Linked DNA regions of Homo sapiens: all the other regions are linked to region 1. Evidence: promoter capture Hi-C in 16 types of primary human blood cells and fetal thymus (Javierre and others, 2016). All regions are on one chromosome and are shown on one strand. The core of a region is centred on a gene start or on the middle of the fragment in contact, and the rest is flanking DNA. Distances in the headings are between cores, read along the strand shown.

The links. The method cuts DNA at HindIII sites, captures the fragments that hold promoters and counts their contacts. A CHiCAGO score of 5 or more calls a contact.
Region 2: a fragment that was not itself captured here is called in contact with the fragment with the promoter of IPO4 in region 1 in 1 of 17 cell types (activated CD4 T cells); the score reaches 6.5 in activated CD4 T cells.
Region 3: a contact is called between a fragment that was not itself captured here and the fragment with the promoter of IPO4 in region 1, in 1 of 17 cell types (monocytes). The highest score is 5.7, in monocytes.
Region 4: a fragment that was not itself captured here is called in contact with the fragment with the promoter of IPO4 in region 1 in 1 of 17 cell types (monocytes); the score reaches 6.4 in monocytes.

The regions. Positions count from the first base shown.
Region 1 is chr14:24,187,483-24,190,182 of GRCh38, forward strand. It overlaps IPO4 (importin 4), which reads right to left and starts at 1,334. Exons shown (of 30, transcript NM_024658.4): 1 at 1,237-1,334; 2 at 1,070-1,156; 3 at 862-941; 4 at 734-775; 5 at 185-314; 6 at 1-97. The coding sequence starts at 1,305. It overlaps TM9SF1 (transmembrane 9 superfamily member 1), which reads right to left. Exons shown (of 6, transcript NM_006405.7): 6 at 1,667-2,326. The coding sequence ends at 1,933. RefSeq lists silencers at 330-540, 786-905. The HindIII fragment of the contact is 6,803 bases long and covers 126-2,700 here.
Region 2 is chr14:23,005,601-23,008,311 of GRCh38, forward strand. The region is part of intron 1 of C14orf93 (chromosome 14 open reading frame 93); the gene reads right to left. LOC124903286 (a long non-coding RNA gene) reads left to right here. Exons shown (of 2, transcript XR_007064075.1): 2 at 968-2,711. Among named protein-coding and RNA genes, the nearest start is that of C14orf93, 3.2 kb to the right of the region's middle. RefSeq lists enhancers at 1,041-1,410, 2,344-2,711 and a silencer at 1,571-1,620. The HindIII fragment of the contact is 3,706 bases long and covers 1-2,711 here.
Region 3 is chr14:22,949,273-22,951,972 of GRCh38, forward strand. HAUS4 (HAUS augmin like complex subunit 4) reads right to left here. Exons shown (of 10, transcript NM_001166269.2): 5 at 2,283-2,417; 6 at 1,042-1,138. The region is part of intron 2 of PRMT5-DT (PRMT5 divergent transcript); the gene reads left to right. Among named protein-coding and RNA genes, the nearest start is that of MIR4707, 6.4 kb to the right of the region's middle. The HindIII fragment of the contact is 1,784 bases long and covers 418-2,201 here.
Region 4 is chr14:23,080,819-23,083,518 of GRCh38, forward strand. It overlaps ACIN1 (apoptotic chromatin condensation inducer 1), which reads right to left. Exons shown (of 19, transcript NM_001386863.1): 5 at 930-1,018. LOC124903288 (a long non-coding RNA gene) reads left to right here. Exons shown (of 2, transcript XR_007064077.1): 2 at 1-1,396. Among named protein-coding and RNA genes, the nearest start is that of ACIN1, 13 kb to the right of the region's middle. The HindIII fragment of the contact is 1,808 bases long and covers 461-2,268 here.

The sequences.
Region 1 (2,700 bases), core at 84-2,583:
CAAGAGTCTCATTCAGAAGCCGAAGAAGCTCCCGGTGGTGGGGTTGGAAGGCCTCGGGCCGGGAGGTCACCACCACACTTAGCAGCAAAAGCCCCATCTGTCCAAGAATAGAGGATGGGAGAGCAAGCTTACAAGGTCTATCCAGCCTCTCAGGCCCTCCCTCCTGCCAACCATGTGATGGTACCTCTCTCTCTGGGCTGTGGGGGCTGTGGGTACTGTGCTGAAGCAGCTGCAAAAGCTGTGGCCAGGCCTCCAAGCCTTCCTTTCGAAAAATGGTGGCTGAGAGCTGGGCCAGGCTGAGGCTCACACAGTGCCTGCAAACAGGAGAGATCTCCTCCAATCACCCTTCAATACCTTCCTCTGCACACAGTGGCCAGGCTCAATGGGGCAGCCAGGACAGAAACTTTCAGGAGGTGTGGGCACAGGGTCTTTGCCAAGTTGGGACACATGAGACAGCAGCTCAGAGGGAGCCCAACAGCACTGTGGGCATGTAATCTGGTAAGTTCAGTCTAACTTAGCCTGAATTTCAGTCTTATTCTTCTGACTTGGGTTTGGCAGATCATCATCACCCTTCCTCAAGAACTTTAGTCTTCAAAACAGCCTTAAAATCCTCACTCCACCTTGCGTCTAGAACTGAAGTCCCTGCCCCACAAGTCCCAGCCTGGAGCCGAAAAGGAAGGCAGAAACCTAGACAAAGTCGTCAAGATCCCGAGAGAAGTGGGTAGGTACTTACTCTGTTTCTCTCTGCAGGGCCGTCAGGATCAGGGACTTGAGGCTGGAACACAGGTGGCAGGTGTTTGGTACCCAGCCTGCCCAAGAAAAGTCTCCGCCTGGCCCCGCCCCACCCCAGGCCCAGCCCACCTCTCCCGTTGCTCCGCCGCCAGCCGTCGCCAGCGGGTGTTCAGTCGTCTGCGGGTCAGCACGGCCGCAAACTGGCGGATCTAGGACGAGGAAGCAAGCACGTGGGGGTCCGGGCAGGAAGGTGCTGAGCGGACCGCAGTGGGCGAATACTGGGGCTTGACCGGTGGCGTACAGTGGGAAGCTCGGAGGGGAGAGTCAGGGGTCTCACCTGGGGGTCGGCCGCCGAGGCTAGCAGGTCGCAGAGAGCCGGCAAAGCGGCGGGGGCCCGAAGAACGATCTGGAGCTGTTCCGTGGCCTGGGGGGAAGCTAGGGGTGAGAGTTGGGCCTTTCCCGCAACCTCCCGCTCGCCCTGGCCCGGTTACGCCTGCTCCGTACCCGACGGATGCGCTCGGTGTCCGGTAGCAGCAGCTCCCGTAGGAGCTGCTCTAGCCCGGCTGACTCCATGGCAGCAACTGAGCCGCCGCTACTGGGCCGAAAAGGGGAGGGGGAGGGACAGCACGTGGAGGTTCTGACACCCACTTCCGGAGGAAAGGGCGTTGCTGCACGCCCCGCGGGTTGCCAAGGTGATTCAATTCGCTTCCCACAAAGAGGTCCGGCTCCTCCACTTCCGTTAGGCTGAGCACCGGCTGAATCGCGGAAACCCGACTCTGGCAATGTAGGTTCCCCACGCCGGGAGTTCCCAAGCTGGGTTGGAGAACTCGAGCTTCGGGCATTCAGTGGCCAGCTCGGCTTTATAAAGGACCGTGCCCTTAACAGCAGGGCTCGAGTTCCTATATCCAGACCAAAACCTCCAACTGCATGAGCCTTTTTCTTAATAAATTTTATTTTGGTAATTGTAAAAAGAAAAATCAGGACCAAAACTAAAGGCAACTTAAAAAGTTCAAATATATAATCCTTATGTGATAGAGATTTATAATTTCCAGGCCCTCTCTGGGGAAGGAATGCCCAAAGGGCAAAAGGGAAGGCAACAATGCCATCACACAATTCAGTCAATCAGAAGAGAAGCTGGTAGGAGAGTTCAACAGGGCATGAAGAAAGGGAGAGAACAGCAATAGTTCTGCCATACAGAACTCAGTCCATCTTGAGGTTAACATAGATATACCGGATGAACTTTAGGGAAGAAAAAAAGGAGATGGTGCCCAGCATGAGGAAGAAGACATAACCAGTGAGTAAGGAGTAGCCGAAGAACTCTACTGTCTGTACTGCCCCAGACATGTTGGAGCGCCGGGCATAATAGAAAACTGAGTAGAGGAAGATGAAGAGGCCGGTGGAGCCAACACTCAGCACAGATCGCCACCACCAGCGGTAATCCTCCCCAGACAACTGGAAGTAGGTGAGTGCAATGGAGATGCAAGCCCCCACACTCAGCAGGATGGCGAAGACAAAGAAGAGGATGCCGTACAAAGTGTACTGCTCCCGACCCCATACTGTGGCAAAGATGTAGTACAGCTCCACAGAGATGGCACTGTGAAGAAAAGAGATGATACACAGCATTAAAGGGCTGTGCACCATCAGCACAGTGGCTGGGCTGAAATCCAGCCCCCACCCTCTCCCATGTTGCTGGGTCATTGTGAAAAGTGAGTTCACTCCACTCTCTGCCCCAGATCTCCTGGCTTCATGGGGATTTTTTGCCTATGATTAGCCGCTCTCACTTCAAGAATATCTTCCCTAATAGATTGAGGGCAGGGATCTTGTCCATTTTATTCCACTTTATTCTTTGCCTGGCACAAAGAGGTATTCAACAAAGTAAATGGGTCATCAAATGGGCTTTAAACCCCACATGATGTCCATAGGCATTAAAGTCAGAAACCAGGAAGGTGAAGGGGGAAATGTCTCCGG
Region 2 (2,711 bases), core at 76-2,575, 1.2 Mb before region 1:
AAAAAGATCTTCAATCTTGGGATGCGTTGCCAACACAACATGACAGTAGATGTCACACTTAGGTTTGCAAAAAATATAAGCATTTGGGGTTCATTTCAGTATTGGTCTAATTTAAATAAATGTGAAACGAGCCTTAAAAATGTACTTTCCAGTACTTTTGGTATTTTTCATAAATATTTAGATAAAAAAGAAAGACAATTCATCTCCTTTAGACAGACAGTTCAGGGTAAGACTGTCCATAATTTTAACTATCCCTTTCCTCCCAAGTCACATTTTTGTTAGGACTAAATATATCATACTCTTGGCAGTTCCCTTGCTTGCTTTCTCCCCATTCTGAGTTTGAATTTTCTGCATGACTGAGTTCACCTCCAAACTATGAAAAATAAAAGTTTTCTCACTATTTAATAGATGTGTATGATATGGTATCACTCAGATGATATATGTTTTTATAATGGGTGCTTGACTCATTCAGGGTCATGCTAGCAATAGACTTCCTTAAATGTGATTACTGAAAGCATGGCAATTCATATCATAATCTTCATTTTAAGAAATAAATAAGGAAAACGGCCACTTAAAGCTCCTGCTGTGTTGGTCAGTCCTACTCCTCCACTTCAAGGTGCAAAATGGCTCACCTGTCAAAAGGTTCTCTCAAAACCTATTTTTATCAGAAATGAGCTCCTTATCACACAAGAGCAGCTAAGTAAATACCACAAAATACTATTTTCCCACATTTTAAAAGAGTGACTCGACTAATGGTCTGCAAAAAATCCAAGACCTTATTTTTAGGGGTAAAAAAGAGAGCTGTAGACCCAGAAGGCCGAATGCGGTCTTTAAAGGATTCCACGTAATCTGAAAATTCCACGTATATTTCTATAGCAGGATGAGAATTTTTAGCCCAGTATAGCACAGTCCTTTTTATTTACATTTGCTAAGATTACATTGGTAAGATTAATATTTCCGATTTCAGGTTTGCCTAAAGGACCCACTGCATTTATGGAGAAACTGAAAAATGAAAAAGTAGCTCCTAGAACTCGTGCCAGCGAGAACTTGGTAAATGTTAGTTGATTAAATATTAGTCAAGGATGACAAGGTGGACCCCAGGGAGGGCAGAACCGTTTCCGATGGGTCAGTGTGATTCAGCTACGGGAAAGGCGATCGCAGCGACGCGGGAAGCAGAGATCGGCGACTGCTCAAGAGGCCTCAGGGGACAGGGTGACTCGCCACTGTGCCCTACCATACAGTGCGCTCTGGGAGTCCCGGGTAAAGGGGGTCATTCCCGCGAGGGATGCGGAGAGCAGAGCGGCCGGAGGAGCGGCTAGGGATCTCGCCGGGTCACCGGGGAGGGTAGACTACGTAGCCCCGAGAGCTTTGAGAACTTGGGCTGAAGGCGGCGCTCGCCGTGAGAACTGACGCGGAGGTGCAGCTTTGCAGCCCTACAGATGTTCTACCGCGTGTGCCTGGCGCTACCGCACGGGCTGACTCAGCTAGGCAGAGGCGGAGGCGGGCGCGCGGGAGACAGAACTATCCGCGGCGCCTGCCCGTGTACCCGGCTACCGCGCGCACGCGGGGAGACACCGCCCCGTTTGCCTTCTGGCTCCCGGTGATTGGCGGTTAGACGATGGCTGGGGAGCAGGGTCACGGACACTATTGGCTGCAAACAACAGTCACTCAAAAAGTCAGGTAGGGGAGGGGCCTCCTCAGGGAGGGACAAGACTGTGAGGCTTTTTCAAGGCCGTCAGACGCCATCTTTAGCTTGTTTTTGTTTACTTGCTTTTGTTCTCTGCTGCTCACAAACCTGTGTGTACACGATTATAAGCACAGTGGCCACAAATCGGCGTCACACGTTGGGTGGTGGCCGACTTTTAGTTACTGCTGGCCTCGGTTACATTTCTTTCACATGTCACCTGCAAATTAGCAGCTCCTCACAGTTCAAAGAAGTTTCCAATACTAGGGGCCCCGAGGATTCCCAGGCAAAATCAACAGAGTTTAGTTTTGCTTTGCTTTGGAAGGCCAAGCCAACGATATATATGTGCGAGGAATTCTCTCCTTTCTTAGGAAGAAAAAGCAAGAACAGTGGATATGACCCTACGTTCCTGGATGTAGAAATCAAATAGCCTAGGAAATCAGGGATACGGGCTCTGCACTGTTCAGGGAGAGCTCTCCCTATTTTTTGAGACGCTAAAAAGTAAGGTAAAAAGTATATGTGATGACCTGTAGTGATGTGGAAAAGAGCTAAAAAGGGTAAAACTCCATTAAAAATTCCCGTAACTGGCCGGGCGCGGTGGCTCACGCCTGTAATCCCAGCACTTTGAGAGGCAGAGGCGGGCGGATCACCTAAAGTCAGGAGTTGGAGACCAGCCTGACCAACATGGTGAAACCCCGTCTCTACTAAAAATACAAAAATCAGCCCGGCATGGTGGCACATGCCTGTAATCCCAGCTACTCGGGAGGCCGAGACAGGAGAATCGCTTGAACCCAGGAGGCGAAGGTTGCAGTGAGCCAAGATCGCACCATTGCCACTGCAGCCTGGGCAACAAGAGCGAAACTCCGTTTCAAAAAAAAAAAAAAAAAAAAAAAAAACTCCCATCACTGTTGTGATCACAAAGATCACTAAAATGTGACTAGATTTCAAAGAAATGCAGGTCTGAAATTGTGGAATAATCCACAGTCGAGCCAGTATTTATTAAGCACTGGTCTGACTTGAATTGTTA
Region 3 (2,700 bases), core at 60-2,559, 1.2 Mb before region 1:
TAATCCCAGCACTTTGGGAGGCCAAGGTGGGTAGATCATGAGGTCAGGAGACTGAGACCATCCTGGCTAACACGGTGAAACCCCGTCTCTACTAAAAATACAAAAAATTAGCCAGGCGTGGTGGCGGGCACCTGTAGTCCCAGCTACTCGGGAGGCTGAGGCAGGAGAATGGCGTGAACCTAGGAGGTGGAGTTTGCAGTGAGGTGAGACTGCGCCACTGCACTCCAGCCTGGGGGACAGAGCGAGACTTCGTCTCAAAAAAAAAAAAAAAAAAAAAAGAGATACACATTCATTCAGGGTGGTCAGACTCAAATAAGAAAATCATTACACAGAAGCAAGTAAAAGCTGAAATATGAATACTACGTCTAGAAACACATTATTATAAACAGCTTGACATAAATGGTATTATACCCTCCAAGCTTATACAGAGAGTATAAGGTGTTCTATGAGTCTGAACTTTCCTCCCTAAACCATTCTGAACCTCCTGAGAGAACTCATCCTTCCCTGCAGCAGGAGGACACTCCCACTCAGTATCTTGCTGAATAAAAAGAGTCCTTACAAAGGTCCTTGTTTTGGCCGGGTGTGGTGGCTCACACCTGTAATCCCAGCACTTTGGGATGCCGAGGCAGGCGGATCACCTGAGGTTGGGAGTTCCAGACCAGCCTAATCAACATGGAGAAACCCCATCTCTACTAAAAATACAAAATTAGCCGAGCGGGGTGGCGCATGCCTGTAATCCCAGCTACTCGGGAGGCTGAGGCAGGAGAATCACTTGAATCTAGGAGGAGGAGCTTGCGGTGAACAGAAATGGCGCCATTGCACTCTAGCCTGGGCAACAGGAGCAAAACGCCATCTCAAAAAAAAAAAAAAACAAAAAAACAAAAAGTCCTTGTTTTTATTCTACCAGCAACAAAACAAATAAGCATCTCTGATGGTTCTAAACCTCTGTCCCAAATCTAAAATCAAAATATATTATTCTCAAAAGAGCAGACCAGGAACCCTGAAGTCCAGCTGTGAGCAGAACAGACAGCTAGCACTCACCTGAATTGGGATCATAGTAGCAGAGCAGAGTGAAACATTTCTTTTTGAGCTGCTCCTCTACTTCTTGCTGTAGCCGAGCCCTCATCCACACAAAATCCTACAGTCATAGAAGTAAAGGCAGAAATGCGAATAGACTGTAAAAACTAGGACGTCTCAGCCAATGAATACATGATGATAACCTCAATAATAGCCAAAGAAAATGCATCAAGAGACATCAGAGAGACTCATTTTTCACCTATCAAATTAGCGAAGAATAAAATGACTGTCAAGACCCCATGTTGGTGAGAACATGGGGGATCCAGGAGCCCTGAAAATACCTTTCTGGATAGCAGTTTGGCATTAGGTACCAATATTCTGTATGAGTATGCACTGACTCAGGAATCCCACTTTTAGCACCAGCATTACAGAAATAATCATACAAAGGTAAAGACACATATGAACCAGCATGTTCATCTCCCTGTGGTTTCTAACAGCAAAAATGTGGAAACAACCTTAATATCCACCAATAAGGTTAAGCAAATTATTCTACATCCATATAATAGAATCCTAGCAGAGATTTAAACTGATGACATAACACTAAGCACTATGTGCCTAGATACTTTGCTAACAGTGCTATAGAAGCTATCATCTTATTTACATTTATGTATTGACTTGAAAAGAAATCCAAAATATATTACATGAAAATAGACTGTACTTTTCTTTTTTTGAGACAGGGTCTCACTCTGTGCCCAGGCTGGAGTACAGTGGCATGATCACAGCTCACTACAGCCTTGACCTCCCACCCTCAAGTCATCCTCCTGCCTCTGTCTCCCGAGTAGCTGGGACTACAGGTGTGCACCACCAAACCTGGCTTTTGTTTTGTTTTTTTTTTGGTAGAGACGAGGTCTCACTATGTTGCCCAGGCTGGTCTTGAACTCCTGAACTCAAGTGATCCTCCCACCTCAGCCTCCCAAAGTGCTACGATTATAGGCGGAAGTCACTACACTCGGCCTTATACTCTCTATATAAGCATGAAGGGTATAATACCATTTATGTCAAGCTGTTTATAATAATATTGTGCTTCTAGATGCAGTATTTCAGCTTTTACTTGCTCCTGTGTAACGTTTTTCTTATTTGAGTCTGACCACCCTGAATGTGTATCATTTTTACAAAAACAATAAAGCTTGACAAAAAAAACATTTTAAAGATATGGGAGAAATTAAACCATTTCATTTATTTGGTTCCAATATCTCCCCGCCAACCTCTGAGAGTGGCATGAGTTCCAGAAGGTCCGCTTTCTCCAGCCCCAGCAGTGGAGGTATCTCCCTCTCCTGGCTAGGACCTAAGAGCCGCATCAGTTCAGTTACAAGCAGCCGCTGTTCAAGGGTCTCATGAAACTGAGAGAGAGAGAATAAAAAACAAAAAGAGGCAACTATAAAACTTCTCCCACTCCACCTCTTCCATCCTTATGAACCAGTTTTTCACATATTTTCAAAGTCCTCAAATATATCATCCCCCCTCAGATAACTCAGCTGCGAGTGACTTCTGTCAATGTTTCTATTACAAACTCTGATAACACATCCACTCCTTCCCCATAACTACAGTCCATTTCTCTTTTGACAAACCATTTCTCAAAGCTCCTACTTCCCCTAGATCACATCATCAGACAAAGCCACAGTT
Region 4 (2,700 bases), core at 115-2,614, 1.1 Mb before region 1:
CAGATACACAATGGCTCCAAATGTATTTGCTCACAGTCAACAGAGGAGAGAAAGTATCTAATGAAGACACCCCTAGGAAGGAGAAATTCAATGATATATACTTTCAGCAACAGAAACAGGAGTGACAGGAGACAATCATGACTAACGTAGCCCTTAGGGGAATCAAAACAAAGTGACCAAAAGAAATATCACAATGAAGCTACTTGTATGTAGTTTAAATTTTAGCTTCAAGCACCCCCTTTTTTTTTTTTTCAGTAAAATATTAGCAGAACATCTGGAAAGTAAAAGGGTGGATAGGGGGCTGAAAGGAACTAACCTACTATCAATTAATACGATTATCTTTTTATCATTTTGGTATATTTCTTTTTGTTCTTTCCTCTAATCATTTCCTTTGTACAGTCATAATTACACTACACATAACATTTTTGTATTCTGCCCACTTAGTGTTATATAACTTTAAAGCTTTGATTGAATGGTTAATTATGTCATATCTTGTCTAATAATGTGCTTTAAGAATACAGAGCAGCCTGCTAATTTTCAAATTTAAACTTTTAAAAAATATTCACTTAGAAATCTAAAAGGCAGAGCAGATCTAAATAAAAAGACAAAACGAACAACAAAAAGATGACAAAGAGGAGAAGGAAGATAACCACAAAGAAATCTAGAGGCCAGGCAGTGGCTCATGCCTGTAATCCCAATCCTTTGGGAGGCTGAGGTGGAAGGACTGCTTAAGCCTAGGAGGTCGAGGCTGTAGTAAGCTGTGATTGTGCCACTGCACTCCAGCCTAGGCGACAGAGCCAGACTCTGTCCCAAAAAAGAAAAACAAAACCCCTAAATGTAGAGACATACAAACTCAAAACAAGTCTGAAGAAGAGAAGATATCCAAAGCATTACTGAAGAGGTAATGCTTTAGGAGGTATCTGAGTTACCTGTCTGACCCTAGATGATCGTCTTTCTCCTTTCCTTGGTTTCTCATCATCAGAGTCACCTTTCTCTTCAGAAATTGAGGAGCTTTTTCCTATTGAATGAAAAAGAATCAAGTCAGATTCATGAAGTGAAGACTCATTCATGGCTTTTTAAAAATCAGGCTTTCTAATATCCAACCAATTATAGCATATGAGCCTATCAAGACATATCTGTATCGGTTTCTTTGACTTCTACACTAAAGAAAAGACTACAAAAAGCCCTAACTAGGTCAGGGTCTTATTGGTAATTCTTGGTGTGCAAGTCTAGAATATTTTCAACACCTCGAAGCCAATTCACATGTTATAAATAACTCAAATAAATGTAAAATAATTTCCAGGGGCTTCAAACTGTCTAGCAGGGATGTACAAATATGAAGTGTACTTATTTCTACAAAGTGTTCTTACTCTGAATAAAGTTTAAGACTTCATTATGTTCTGTATCCATTTTTTTGGATTGCCTATTACTACTACTTTCTAATTTCAACCAAAATATTATGATGAAATATATGAATTTGCACAATAACAAACTCAAGAAATAAATACTTAGAGGAATGTTTTTCAGCGCCCTAAAGTTCCTGAAATTACTTCAAGCCAACTGGATGGGGTTTCAGAATTGGGTCCTGTCTATTAGGTTTTATGTATTAGAGCTCAATATTTTTTTTTTTTTTTTTTTTTTTTCTGAGATGGAGTCTCACTCTGTCACCCAGGCTGGATGCAGTGGTGCAATCTCGCCTCACTGCGACCTCTGCCCCCTGGCTTCAAACCAGTCTCATGCCTCAGCCTCCTGAGTAGCTGGGATTACAGGTGCCCACCACCATGCCTGGCTAATTTTTGTATTTTTAGTAGATATGGGGTTTCATCCTGTTGGACAGGCTGGTCTCAAACTCCTGACCTCAAGTGATCTGCCCGCCTTGGCCTCCCAAAGTGCTGGGATTACAGGCATGAGCTCACATGTTTTTCTTTTTTTTTTTTTGAGACAGAGTTTTGCTCTTGTTGCCCAGGATGGAGTGCAATGGCATGATCTAGGCTCACCACAACCTCCGCCTCCCAGGTTCAAGCGATTCTCCTGCTTCAGCCTACCGGGCAGCTGGGACTGCAGGCGCACGCCACCATACCTGGCTAATTTCGGTATTTTTTACAGAGGCGGGGTTTCATCATGTTGCCTAGGCTGGTTCGAACTCCTGGGCTCAAGCAATCCCCCCGCCTTGGCCTCCCAAAGTGCTGGAATTACAGGCGTGAGTCACCGCACCCGGACTAGGTGAGATTTTTTTTTTTTTTAAGGAAAAAAAAAGTTCTATTAAAAAGCTTGGAAACCACCAATCTAGGTTATCCTGAACAATAAATCCATGTAAAACGGAAAGAAAGTTTCACTCAAATTCCATGAAGGAAGGTAACTGGGTAAATCACTTAAGTAATTTGGGTCTCAATATCTTTCTTTTTAGACAGTGTTTTACTCTGTCACCCAGGCTGGAGTGCAGTGGCATGATCATGGCTCACTGCAGCCTCAGCCTCCAGGGCTCAAGTAATCCTCCCACCCCGGTCCTCCCAAAGTGCTGAGATTAAGGTATAAACCACTGTGCCCGAGTCTCAAATGTCATGATTGAGAAAAAGGAGGGGCTGCACTAGATGATTTCCAAATTTCCTACCAGAATTAAGATCAACTAGGCGGCCGGGCACGGTGGCTCACGCCTGTAATCCTAGCACTTTGAGAGGTCGAGGCAGGCGGATCACGACG